Regions from separate parts of the Homo sapiens genome. Here regions 1, 2 and 3 are each linked to region 4. The links are contacts of gene promoters, found by promoter capture Hi-C in blood cells and fetal thymus (Javierre and others, 2016). All regions are on one chromosome and are shown on one strand. The core of a region is centred on a gene start or on the middle of the fragment in contact, and the rest is flanking DNA. Distances in the headings are between cores, read along the strand shown. Region 1 overlaps CCDC134 (coiled-coil domain containing 134). Region 2 overlaps MEI1 (meiotic double-stranded break formation protein 1). Region 3 overlaps MEI1 (meiotic double-stranded break formation protein 1). Region 4 holds the start of SEPTIN3 (septin 3).

The links. Contacts are between HindIII fragments. The CHiCAGO score rates a contact against its expected background, and 5 or more counts as called.
Region 1: a fragment that was not itself captured here is called in contact with the fragment with the promoter of SEPTIN3 in region 4 in 1 of 17 cell types (naive B cells); the score reaches 6.1 in naive B cells.
Region 2: a contact is called between a fragment that was not itself captured here and the fragment with the promoter of SEPTIN3 in region 4, in 5 of 17 cell types (activated CD4 T cells, non-activated CD4 T cells, total CD4 T cells and 2 more). The highest score is 6.7, in activated CD4 T cells.
Region 3: a fragment that was not itself captured here is called in contact with the fragment with the promoter of SEPTIN3 in region 4 in 4 of 17 cell types (naive B cells, naive CD8 T cells, total CD8 T cells and 1 more); the score reaches 7.3 in naive B cells.

The regions. Positions count from the first base shown.
Region 1 is chr22:41,825,481-41,828,180 of GRCh38, reverse strand. CCDC134 (coiled-coil domain containing 134) reads right to left here. Exons shown (of 7, transcript NM_024821.5): 7 at 1-2,483. The coding sequence ends at 2,358. SREBF2-AS1 (SREBF2 antisense RNA 1) reads left to right here. Exons shown (of 2, transcript NR_157279.2): 2 at 1-700. Among named protein-coding and RNA genes, the nearest start is that of SREBF2, 6.3 kb to the left of the region's middle. RefSeq lists an enhancer at 1,546-2,052. The HindIII fragment of the contact is 9,332 bases long and covers 1-2,700 here.
Region 2 is chr22:41,740,854-41,743,553 of GRCh38, reverse strand. MEI1 (meiotic double-stranded break formation protein 1) reads right to left here. Exons shown (of 31, transcript NM_152513.4): 12 at 360-474. Among named protein-coding and RNA genes, the nearest start is that of MEI1, 43 kb to the right of the region's middle. The HindIII fragment of the contact is 2,151 bases long and covers 201-2,351 here.
Region 3 is chr22:41,717,672-41,720,371 of GRCh38, reverse strand. It overlaps MEI1 (meiotic double-stranded break formation protein 1), which reads right to left. Exons shown (of 31, transcript NM_152513.4): 6 at 2,098-2,301. Among named protein-coding and RNA genes, the nearest start is that of MEI1, 20 kb to the right of the region's middle. The HindIII fragment of the contact is 1,832 bases long and covers 335-2,166 here.
Region 4 is chr22:41,968,175-41,970,874 of GRCh38, reverse strand. It overlaps SEPTIN3 (septin 3), which reads right to left and starts at 1,432. Exons shown (of 12, transcript NM_001363845.2): 1 at 1,198-1,432. The HindIII fragment of the contact is 14,934 bases long and covers 1-2,700 here.

The DNA.
Region 1 (2,700 bases), core at 53-2,552, 140 kb after region 4:
CCACCACACTGGGCTGGCTTCCCCATTGCTCTGCAGTTGCCCAGCTCTGCTTCAAATTATACAAATCCTGCTAATGACAGAGCCCGTAGAAGTTATTCAGTAGAAAGAACCTCCAGCCGAAGCTGGACCCACCACTGACTGTCCTGAGGTATGCTTTAGCCTCCCTGCCACCCCAAGAAAGCTAGGTCTGCTGCCAACCAGGCCTGGTTCTTAGAAAGTTTTTTCTCCAGTTAAGGGGAAAGCCAAGCACCTTCTCTGCTAAGTCAGCAACCACAACCACTCTCTAGCATGAAAAGGACAGCGACTGGCCTGGTCCTTCCGGCAGGGAAGAGCTTGCGGGCTGGTCCTGACACCCAGCTCCAGCTGCTGGCACCAGGACAGGTTAAACAGCTGAGCCAGTGAATCTGACCCTTTCCCGTTGATGCAGGAAAATAGGGTCTGGAGGCAGGGAACATAAGGCCAATTCACGCTTCAGCTATAACAGGGAATATCCTCCCCATAGGGTATATGCTGTAAATGAATTTGTAAATTTACTTCATCCTTTCCATTTACATAGGGTGTACCTCAAGTAACCAATGGAATCCTCTAGTGGGTATTTACTCCCAAAAATTCTGTAACGGGCCCCTTGAGTCCCTATGCTCAGGCCCTCTCCCATGCTGTGGAGTATACTTTCATTCTCAGTAAAACCCTTCATTCCTTCCTTGCTTTGTGCATTTTGCCCAATTCTTTGTTCAAGACATCAAGAACCTGGACACCCTCCACTGTTAATGCCATGGACCAGCCCTTTAGTTCACAGACTCGGGTGTCCATGTGGCTGGGGTCACACAACCTGAGAAGGGCAGGGTGGAGATGAAACTATGTCTGTTGAGTCAGTCCCACCACACTGCCCTGCCTCCACTGCCCAGTGAGGGGCCTTCTGATGGGGAAATTTCTCCAGCACTCCTCCCAGCCCCCACACCCAGCTCTCTTCCAGCTGCTTCTTGTCCCCTTACTTCCGAGTAACTGATGGGTGCAGGATGTTCTGGGCCCTTCCATGAGGCTTCTCTAAGGCTTGGCTTCCCTTTGCTGCTGCAGCCCCGTAGGGAGGCCAGCCTCAGAGAAACAGGTTAGGGCTGGGCAGGGGATACAGATACCATCAAATTCATTTTGCCAATGAAGCTGCAGCACAGGGAGGGGTGGGCCAAGGCCAGTCAGCAAATCTGAAGGGCTAACACTCAGATCTCACTTGTGCTCTGTCAGTGGTAGGGGGCTGGGTGTCGAGGGGATCTGGGATGGTTTTCTCTGCTCCTTTAAGAGGCAGATCCTGACTTGGCAAGGTCAAAGAGGCAGAGCTAGAATTCTCACTAAAGCCCTTCCCTCCTCTGCTTGGGAGGGGCATGAGTGAAGGGCAGCTGCCCTACCCAGGGCCACATGCCCTCTGCAGCTTCCCTGCCCTGTGGCCTCCCGAGACGGGAAGCTGTCTGACCCATGCAGCTTAGGGCAGCCATTGCGGAGCACGGCCTCCTGCAGGGCTGCGGCCTGTCCCCCTGCAGCCCCCCACCCACAGGTTGACTGTCTTCCAGCGCTGCCAGAGAGAACAAGCTGACTTCCCTGTGCTTGCTCAATGACTGTCCCCAGACATCTGAGGACAGGGATCATGTTGCTCCAAGGTCTTCTTGAGCTAAATGTTTCCCAGGTCCCAGGGCACTTCCAGGTCCTTTCCCAACACCAATCATTTGTCAAGGGCAGTGATGGCGTAGGACCAGGAGGCCCAAGCCAAGCCCCTTCCTTCTCTGCCCTGCCAGGGCCTGGGGCCCCTCCTGGTGGGGCAGAGGCATCCTCCAAGCTGTTTCTACATCCCTGAGGGGCCCTGGTCCCCTCACAGTGTCCCCACCAGCCTTGGTCGGTCCAAAGGGTCTGCTGGCTTTTATTGTGTCTCTGCAGAGGGGCTGGGACCTGTGCCAGGCAGCTCTGTGACACAGTGGGGCCAGCAGCAGGGTGGCACCCTGACCCGTGGCTCAGAACCTAGTTCTGCTGCTTCCCCACCAAGGGCGGAAGCCAGCTGGCCAGAGGTCTTCAGCCACCAACAGGGTCCAGGCAGGCATCCTCCTGCCTCCCCCAGCAGTCTGCACAGGGTCATATTTCCAGCATAAAATCCTCTGAAGGCCCCTTCAGCAGGAGGCCCCTGAGAGAAAATCCAGCCATCTGAGGCTCAGTCCCTTCAGCTGGGGCTCAGACCCAGCTCCAGGGGGCCGGGCAAATGTGGCCTCCCCTTCTGGAAGGGGCTAGCTGGTGCTCTCCACCACAACCACACCTCCACCTCTTCTTCCTCCCGACCTGCCTCCTTGTGGCCCCCTGAGCCCTGAGCTGCTCCAGGGCTATAACTCAGACTGGGATCTGGAGATCCTTGGGCCTTTTCGGATCTCCTTCCGCTTCTCCTCTTTCTTTCGGCGTTTCTCTTCTTCTCTCAGGGCCTTCTGGAAAGGGTCAGTGCTGGGAATGAACTGAAGGGAAGAGAAGAGCAGTCTGATTTAGTCTGTGGCAGCAAAGAGCCTGCTCTGAGCTAGGCCACCAGCGGGGTGTGGGAATAGGAAGGTTCCCTGGACACAGGCCCTGCCCCAGACACGGAGACAGGAAATGGGTTTGGGAGAACTGCTGAGTGGGTGTTGGAAGATAAGCAGGAGTTTGCCAAACCAACGGCATGAGGAAAGGGAAGGGTAT
Region 2 (2,700 bases), core at 27-2,526, 230 kb after region 4:
ATAATTTTGTGAGCATGTTTACCCTATCTGCTTATATGATATAAACAGAGAATGTGTGTAATAGACTGGGGTAAAAACACCCTGGAATTTACTGTTCTAGGCTTAGGTACTTTATAGTTTTGGACCTTAGAGAAAAATTATTTAACCCTCGTGGCTTTAGTTTCCCCATCTGTAAAAATGACAATAGTAATCCTTAAGCTTCATAGTTCTGCTATTAGGGAAAAAGCATCTCATTGTAGCCATGTGTGCATGAGAAAAAGTCATGAAATAGCATACAAAAGTAAGGGAATATACTAATTATCTTTCTAAAAACACACTGCAGCATGATCTTCGGAAGCAGCAGGCTGCAGTACACTGACCAGGGGCCTCCTGCTCAGCAAGGTCTGGGAAAACTCCGCACATCGGTTTAGCATGGCTTCTAGCAAAGCCTGCAGTTCCCCATACTGCACAGGTGGAGTGCTCTGATGGTCCTTCCTGCATCCAGAGAGACAAAAGCAGGTTCACGGTAAGGCAACGGTATTCCCAAGATAACCCCAGGTTCTCAGGCAATGAGAGGCAGTGCAGTTGGATCAGAACATGGAATCTAATCTGATAAAAATCCTTACTCCAGGCCAGGAATGGTGGCTCACGCCTGTTAATTCCAGCACTTTGGGAGACTGAGATGAGTAGATGTCTTGAGTCCAGGAGATGGAGACCAGCCTGGGCAACATGGTGAAACCCAGTCTCCACAAAAATTAGCCAAGTGTGGTGGCATACACCTGTGATTTCAGTTACTCAAGAGGCAGAGGTGGGAGGATCACCTGAGCCCAAGAAGGTAGAAGCTGCAGTGAGCCGTGATCATACTACTGCAATCCAGCCTGGGTGACAGAACAAGACTTTGTCTCAAAAAAATCCTTACTTCAATGCTTATCTAACTGCACAACTTCTTGTACATTCCTTGCCCTCTCTAACCATCAATTTCCTCATCTATTAAATGAGGCTAATAGTACTCTCCTCATAGACTTATTATGGGGATCAAATTCGATAATGTATGCCAAACACTTAGCATGATGCTTAATACGTAATAAGTCCTTATAAATGTCAGCTGTGTCTATTATTACTATTAAGGATACAAGGTTTTCTCGCAGAGGAGAGCCTGCTGGTAAAAGAAGCACTACCTAGAATTGAACGTGCATCAAGAGAGTGACAGCTACTGTTTTCCAATAAGTAATAAGCTCTTCTGGGGAAGAGGGATCAAACTTTGTTAACTCAACGAGGAAAACCAGGATCAACAGGTAAATGTTACTAAGATCCAGAGATGGAGTCTCACTCTGTCACCCAGGCTGGAGTGCAGTGGTGTGATCTTGGCTCCCTGCAACCTCCATCTCCCAGATCCAAGCAATTCTCCTGCCTCAGCCACCTGAGTAACTGGGACTACAGGCGCACACCACTACACCCAGCTAAGTTTTGTACTTTTAGTAGAGATGAGATTTCACCATGTTGGCCAGGCTGGTTTCAAACTCCTGACCTCAAGTTATCCACCCACCACAGCTTCCCAAAGTGTGGGATTACAGGCATGAGCCACTGCACCCAGCCTGAGAACTTTCTTTTCTCTTTTTTTTTTTTTTTTTTGAGATGGAGTCTCGCTCTGTCACCAGGCTGGGGTACAGTGGCGCAATCTAAGCTCACTGCAACCTCTGCCTCCCGGGTTTAAGTGATTCTCCTGCCTCAGCCTCCCAAGTAGCTGGGACTACAGGCGCACGCCACCACACCCAGTTAATTTTTGTATTTTTAGTAGAGACGGGGTTTCTTGACCTCATGATCTGCCGCCTCAGCCTCTCAAAGTGCTGGAATTACAAGCGTGAGCCACCACGCCCAGCATCAGCCTGAGAATTTTCTGAGTCAAAGTCTATAGAAGTATTGGGGACCATCTCTAGGGAGAAGTGATTCCCCATTCTATGAGACTATACGCAGAGACTGGAAAAGTACTTTTGGAGATTCAATCATTATGAGTGTGGGGTAAATGTAGACAGGTAACACCTAAGGCCCATTTGAACCCTCAGATTCTATAGACTCAGAAGAGCCAACAGTCATTGACTAGTTTAATTGTGAGTTTCCAAGAGGAAAGGGACCAGTTCCATCTTTTCACTTTACCTAAACAGAGACAGATGCATTGTAAGTTGATGATTAATAGAACAGATGTCAAATGAATGAATGACTATTTCACAGGGTATTGGTTTCTTAGGGCTGCTATAATAAATTACCACAAACTGTGTGGCTTAAAACAACAGAAGTTTATCCTCTCACAGTTCTGGAGGCTAGAAATCTGAAATTGAGGTGTCGTCAGGGCCATGTCCCCTCTAAAGCAAGCTTGTCCCACCCACAGCCCACAGGCCGCATGCAGCCCAGGACAACTTTGAATGCAGCCTGACACAAATTTGTAAACTTTCTTAAAACATTATGATATGAAACCCTGTCTCTACTAAAAATACAAAATTTAGCTGGGCATGGTGGCGCGTGCCTGTAATCCCAGCTACTCGGCAGGCTGAGGCAGGAGAATCGCTTGAACCAGGGAGTTGGAGGTTGCAGCGAGCCAAGATCACATCACAGCACTCCAGCCTGGTGACAGAGCAAGACCCTCATCCCTGAGCCTTTGTTGAGCACTGAGAGCCATCTGTTGGGCCTTCTAACAGGTTCTCAGTCAACTGCATATGGTTACGG
Region 3 (2,700 bases), core at 1-2,500, 250 kb after region 4:
TGTGGTTAGGTGAGCTGTAGGACTGCCAAGGGCCTCACCCTAGGGCCTGTATTTGCACCCTTTTGTTCTATATGCACTAACTCCAACACTGCCCTGCTGCAAGTTACCGCAGATACAGGCTGCTTCATACCTCGTGCTCTGGCCCGTGTTTCTGCCTTCCTCCTCTCCCCCCCAATTTAGGACTCAGTCCAGGCATCCTTTCCTTTAGGAAGCTTCTCCTGTCCCCTGCTCCTACCCTCTGCTGTGCACCTCCAAGATGGCACTCATCACACTAGACTCTAGTTGTCCATGTGTGTCTTCTACACTGGCCTGTGAGCTCCCCTAAGATAAAGCTTGGATTTGATCATCTCTGTGACCTCAGAGCCCAGCACAGGGCCAGCTATAGAACGAATGCTCACTATGTATGGCTAGGTCATTCATAACAGAGCTCCTGATCCAAATTTTGAAAAGAAGCTGCTGTCACCAATAGACTATGCTTTTCTCTACAGCTTCTACCTGAGAACAGGCCCTCAACCAGGCACCAATTACAGTGCCCATCTGTTCTGCCCAAAATAAGAAATCTCCCTGCTTAGAACAGTTGATAGACCTTATGTATTTATGTAAAAAAATAGCAGGAGAGGACGTTAAAAGGGTATGTTGGGGCTTCTAAAGAGCCTCAAGTAACAAGCAGAGAAACCTAGTGCCATGGTTTGAATGTGTTCCCCAAAGTTCATGTGTTGGAAACTGAATCCCCAATGCAGCGGTATCAGGAGCTGGGACCTACGGGTGGTGTTTGGGTCATGAGTTTGGGGTTTGGGTTTGGACCCTCATGAATGAATTAATGCCATCACCATGGGAGTGGGTTTGTTATCATGAGAGTAGGCTCCTCATAAAAGGACAAGTTCAGGCCAGGCACAGTGGCTTGCGCCTTTAATCCCAGCACTTGGGGAGGGCAAGGTGGGCAGATCACCTGAAATCAGGAGTTCGAGACCAGCCTGGGCAACATGGTGAAACCCCGTTTCCACTAAAAATATAAAACTTGGCCGGATGTGATGGTGGGTGCCTGTAATGCCAGCTACTCAGGAGGCTGAGGCATAAGAATCACTTGAACCGGCCGGGCGCGGTGGCTCACGCCTGTAATCCCAGCACTTTGGGAGCCAAGGCGGGTGGATCACGAGGTCAGGAGATCGAGACCATCCTGTCTAACACGGTGAAACCCCGTCTCTCCTAAAAATACAAAAAATTAGCTGGGCATGGTGGCAGGCGCCTGTAGTCCCAGCTACTCGGGAGGCTGAGGCAGGAGAATGGTGTGAACCCGGGAGGCGGAGCTTGCAGTGAGCCAAGATTGCGCCACTGCAGTCCGGCCTGGGCAACAGTGTGAGACTCTGTCTCAAAAAAAAAAAAAAAAAAAAAGAATCACTTGAACCGGGGAGGTAGAGGTTGCAGTGAGCTGAGAAAGCACCACTGGACTCAAGCTGGGCAACAGAGCAAGGCTCTGTCTCAAAAAAAAAGAAAAAAGAAAAAAAAGGACAAGTTCAGTCCCCTCTAGCTTTTTCTCTTGCCCTCTCTTTGCCCTTCCACCATGGGATGACAGAGCAAGAGGGGTTTCACCAACTGCCAGCCTCTTGATCTTGGACTTCCTAGGCTCCAGAACTACAAACCAATAAATTTCTGAACCAATAAGTTTTTCATTATAAATCACCTAGTCTGTGGTATCCTGTTATAGCAGCATAAAATGCACTAAGACACCTAGGCTTTACCCTGGAGGCCAGAGGGAACCATGGAAGAATTTCTGACTTAAGAAAGTGACAGGACGTGAGCTATACAATGTAAAGATTAACTTGCCAGCAAATACAGGATGCACCAGGGCAGGCAGTAAAGGCAGAAAAAATTGCTGTCCCACTTTCCTTCCTATTTTCCTCCAAAGGCAACATTCTTAAGATGTCATACCAACTCTAGGCATCTTTCACACAGTGTGTCTCTTATCTCTCAAGCCTTGTGGCTTCTACCTTTTGCAAAACAGCAAACTTCCCCACTACTAGAGAACCCAATATCTCAAGTCTTCTAGCAAAATGTCAAAAACTTATTCTCCCTTTTTTCTCCAGCCTCATGTCTTACCCAAGCAGTTAATCTGCAGCTCCTTTGTCTGGGCACCATCCAGGATGGAAAGGAAGAGGGGAAAAAGCTTCTCACGGAAGTGTCCTGAAAGCATCTCAGCTGCCACTGGTGAGGAGTATAGCTTCCCATAAAGGTAACAGACAGAAGCTTGTATGCCCTCACTGGGGTATACTAAGCCTCTCAACAGATGCTCCATCAGGTTGCCTGTCCAGAAAACAACCAAGGAGCCAAGGGAAATTTCACAATGTCAACTGCTATATGAAACTCCAATCTATTATTCCTAACGGGGTAGTAATGGTAAGTCCCTATAATCCCCCACAAAAAATGCTTTCTGCATGCTTAATCTAAAGGCAAAACCAAACTGGGCACAGTAACTCACACCTGTAATCCCAGCACTTGGGAAGGCCAAGGCAGAAGGATCACCTAAGGTCAGGAGTTCGAGACCAGCCTGGCCAACAAGACGAGACCCAGCATCTACTAAAAATACAAAAATTAGCCGGGCATGCTGGCACACGCCTGTAATCCCAGCTACTTGAGAAGCTGAGGCAGGAGAATCGCTGAAACCCACGAGGCAGAGGTTGCAGTGAGCCGAGATCATGCCAC
Region 4 (2,700 bases), core at 183-2,682:
GAGGATGGGAAATGGAGAGGCAGTGAGTGTTCACAGAAGGAGCTTATCTGGTGAACAAGCCATGGTCCCCGCCCTTGAAGAGGCTGCCATGCCCAGGGATGCCAGGCAAGGAAGTAGGCAGGGCTCCACCAAGCTAAGCATTAGGGGTAGAAAGGCGGGAGGCTAGACCTGAGCTGGGGCTGTTCCTACAGAAGGCCCAAAGGTGAGAAAGTGTGGCATCTTTCTGAAAATCCAACATGGGGCTCCTAGGCTGTATGTAGCAGGGAGGGGAGAGCCAAGGCTGCAGGTGAGCTGGGGTCCAGGCCAGGCTACAGCAAAGTTTAGGCCAGGGAATGTGACCCATTCCGATCTGTAGGTGGGAACGGCCACTCGGGCAGTGTGACAGAGGGATCAGATGGGAACAGAATTGAAGCCAGGATCCCATGAGGACATAGTTGAAACTCTCTGCTCCGTGGGCTGTGCAAGGGGCAGAGCTAGGGCTGGGGCTGGAGGAGGCTGCATTGCACAGGGGTAGAAGTGGCGGGACTGCCCAGGGTAGGGAGTGGGCACAAAGAGGTGTCGAGGATGAAGCTCAGGACTCTGGCTGTGGTCTTAGTAGATGGGCCACTCCCTGCTACTCTGGACTCCAAGTAACTCACCCTCTAGAAAAAAGTTGGTTTGGTTGCTTTTAACACAGCAGGCTGGGACCTGCAGCTGGGGGACAAGGCCAGGGCTGGTGGGAGGAGTCAGTTCCAGAGGGCTCATGGGGAGGGGAGTGATCATGTAGCCAGGTCCTTGAGGTCTGCAGCAGGGACGGGGAAGGCAGGGCACCGGACAGGGAAGGCATCACCCCTCACAATGGTGCCCCCAGCCCCTCATCCCTCTCCAGCCATATATTTGTATCCAAGACTGTCCTGGCCTCCAACCCTTTCCCACCTGGCCTATCACTGCAGCCCTGAACTTCTGCCCCCTCCTGCACAGCCACATCCACTTGGGCACACACGTTTACCCTGCACTTAGCCACAAACAGCTCCCCTCAGTGTGCACACCCACACACAGAGCAGGCCAGAGGACAGGGTGTCCGAGGGCATCACCCGACTCCCCATCCCCTCACTGCACTCCCATCTTCCATGGATTGCTTGGTCCTTCCCCACCCCACCCCCACCACCCTCCCACCCCCACAAACCCCCACACCCTTCCACCCCCCTACACACCTACCTTGATCAGAGGACAAGAAGGATCCAGTGTGTCTGGGAAGATAAGGCACACGCAGGCCCCTCACCTCCCCTGCACTCAGAGTCTGGCCATGGTGGCCAGCTTAGGGGCCTTGTCCCTCTGGTCCCCTCCTCAGCTCCTGCTCAGCCTCCAGGCCACAGTCCCCAGGCACAGGGCCCAGCCCTCTGCTCACTGTCCCACCAGCTACATCCCCGGAGACCGTGCTGGGCTGGGCTCTGGTGCAGGGAGGGGCTGGCTTCCTAGGAGTGGGCGGCTGTGAATGGCTGCTCTGAGCCTCTGGAATCCTGAAGAGCCATGGGAGGCTGGTAACGGCCAGGCTGGCACTCACGGCCACCTGCAGGGAGGTTCCCTGCAGCCTGCCCTCCCCAAATCTGCTCTGTCTCCCACAGACTTTGATGCCTGGGGAGTCTGCAGTAAAAACAGGGGTACTCCAAATATGGCTGCACTCTGGTAGTCCCAGCGCGAGTCTCCCTCTGGCTCTGCCTCTGTGCCCTTCATGCCCTGTTCAGCTCTGCAACCCTCAGACCATCTTGCCCACTCACCTGGTCTTTCCTCAAGGGGGCTGGAGTTCCTGGAGGCTAGAGCTCCTTCCACAACTATTCCCTGAGCCCCAGCTTGCTCCAGCTGGACCCTGTACCCAGACCCTAAGGGTGTGAAGAGGACCCCGCCCTAGGCCTGCCCCTGAGGGGACCACAAAGCCACCCAGCCTGGCTCTGGCAATGCCGACTCTCAGCAGCCCCTGGCCCTGGGGCTGGGATGGGAGCCCTCTTCTGTGTTCCCACAGCCCTCGGCTGCCTCTGTCATAGCAGTGGTGATAATAACAATGGTGCTGATAACAGCTACTATTTCCTGAGCACTTGCTCTGTGCCCGGCACCATGCCAGGGCTGGGCGGAGCTCACAGTCTGCTAGGAAGATAGGTATGTAAACAGATCCTATAGTACTGTCCTGTACGGTGATGGCAGATGTCCTCCGAGCACTCACCCTGAGTCAGGAACTAGGCTAAGCATTCTCCTGGCATCTCCTTTAATCTCCGCCTCATCACCTGCTTTTTACCGAGGAGGACATTGCAGCCCACACAACACTGTGTTGTCTGGTCTGCTCTCCTGTGTGTCTCTCTCTTTAGCGAGTGAGCTTCTGGAGCTGCGCTGGGCAATACAACTTTCAGTGATAATGGAAATGTTCTATGTCTGTGCTGTCCAGTACAGTAGCCACTAGCCACAGATGGCTACCGATCACTTAAAATGTGTCTACAGTGACCAAGGAACTGGATTTTTTAGTTTATTTTAATCTGTGGCTACCATATTAGCTCAGCTCTGTTTCGTTTGTTGTTGCTGTTGTTGTTATTAGTTTTTTTGAACAGGGTTTCACTCTGTCGCCCAGGCTGGAAGACAGTGGCGCCATCATGGCTCACTGCAGCCTCTTGGGCACAAGTGATCCTCCCACTTCTGCCTCCAGAGTAGCTGGGACCACAGGCATGCACCACC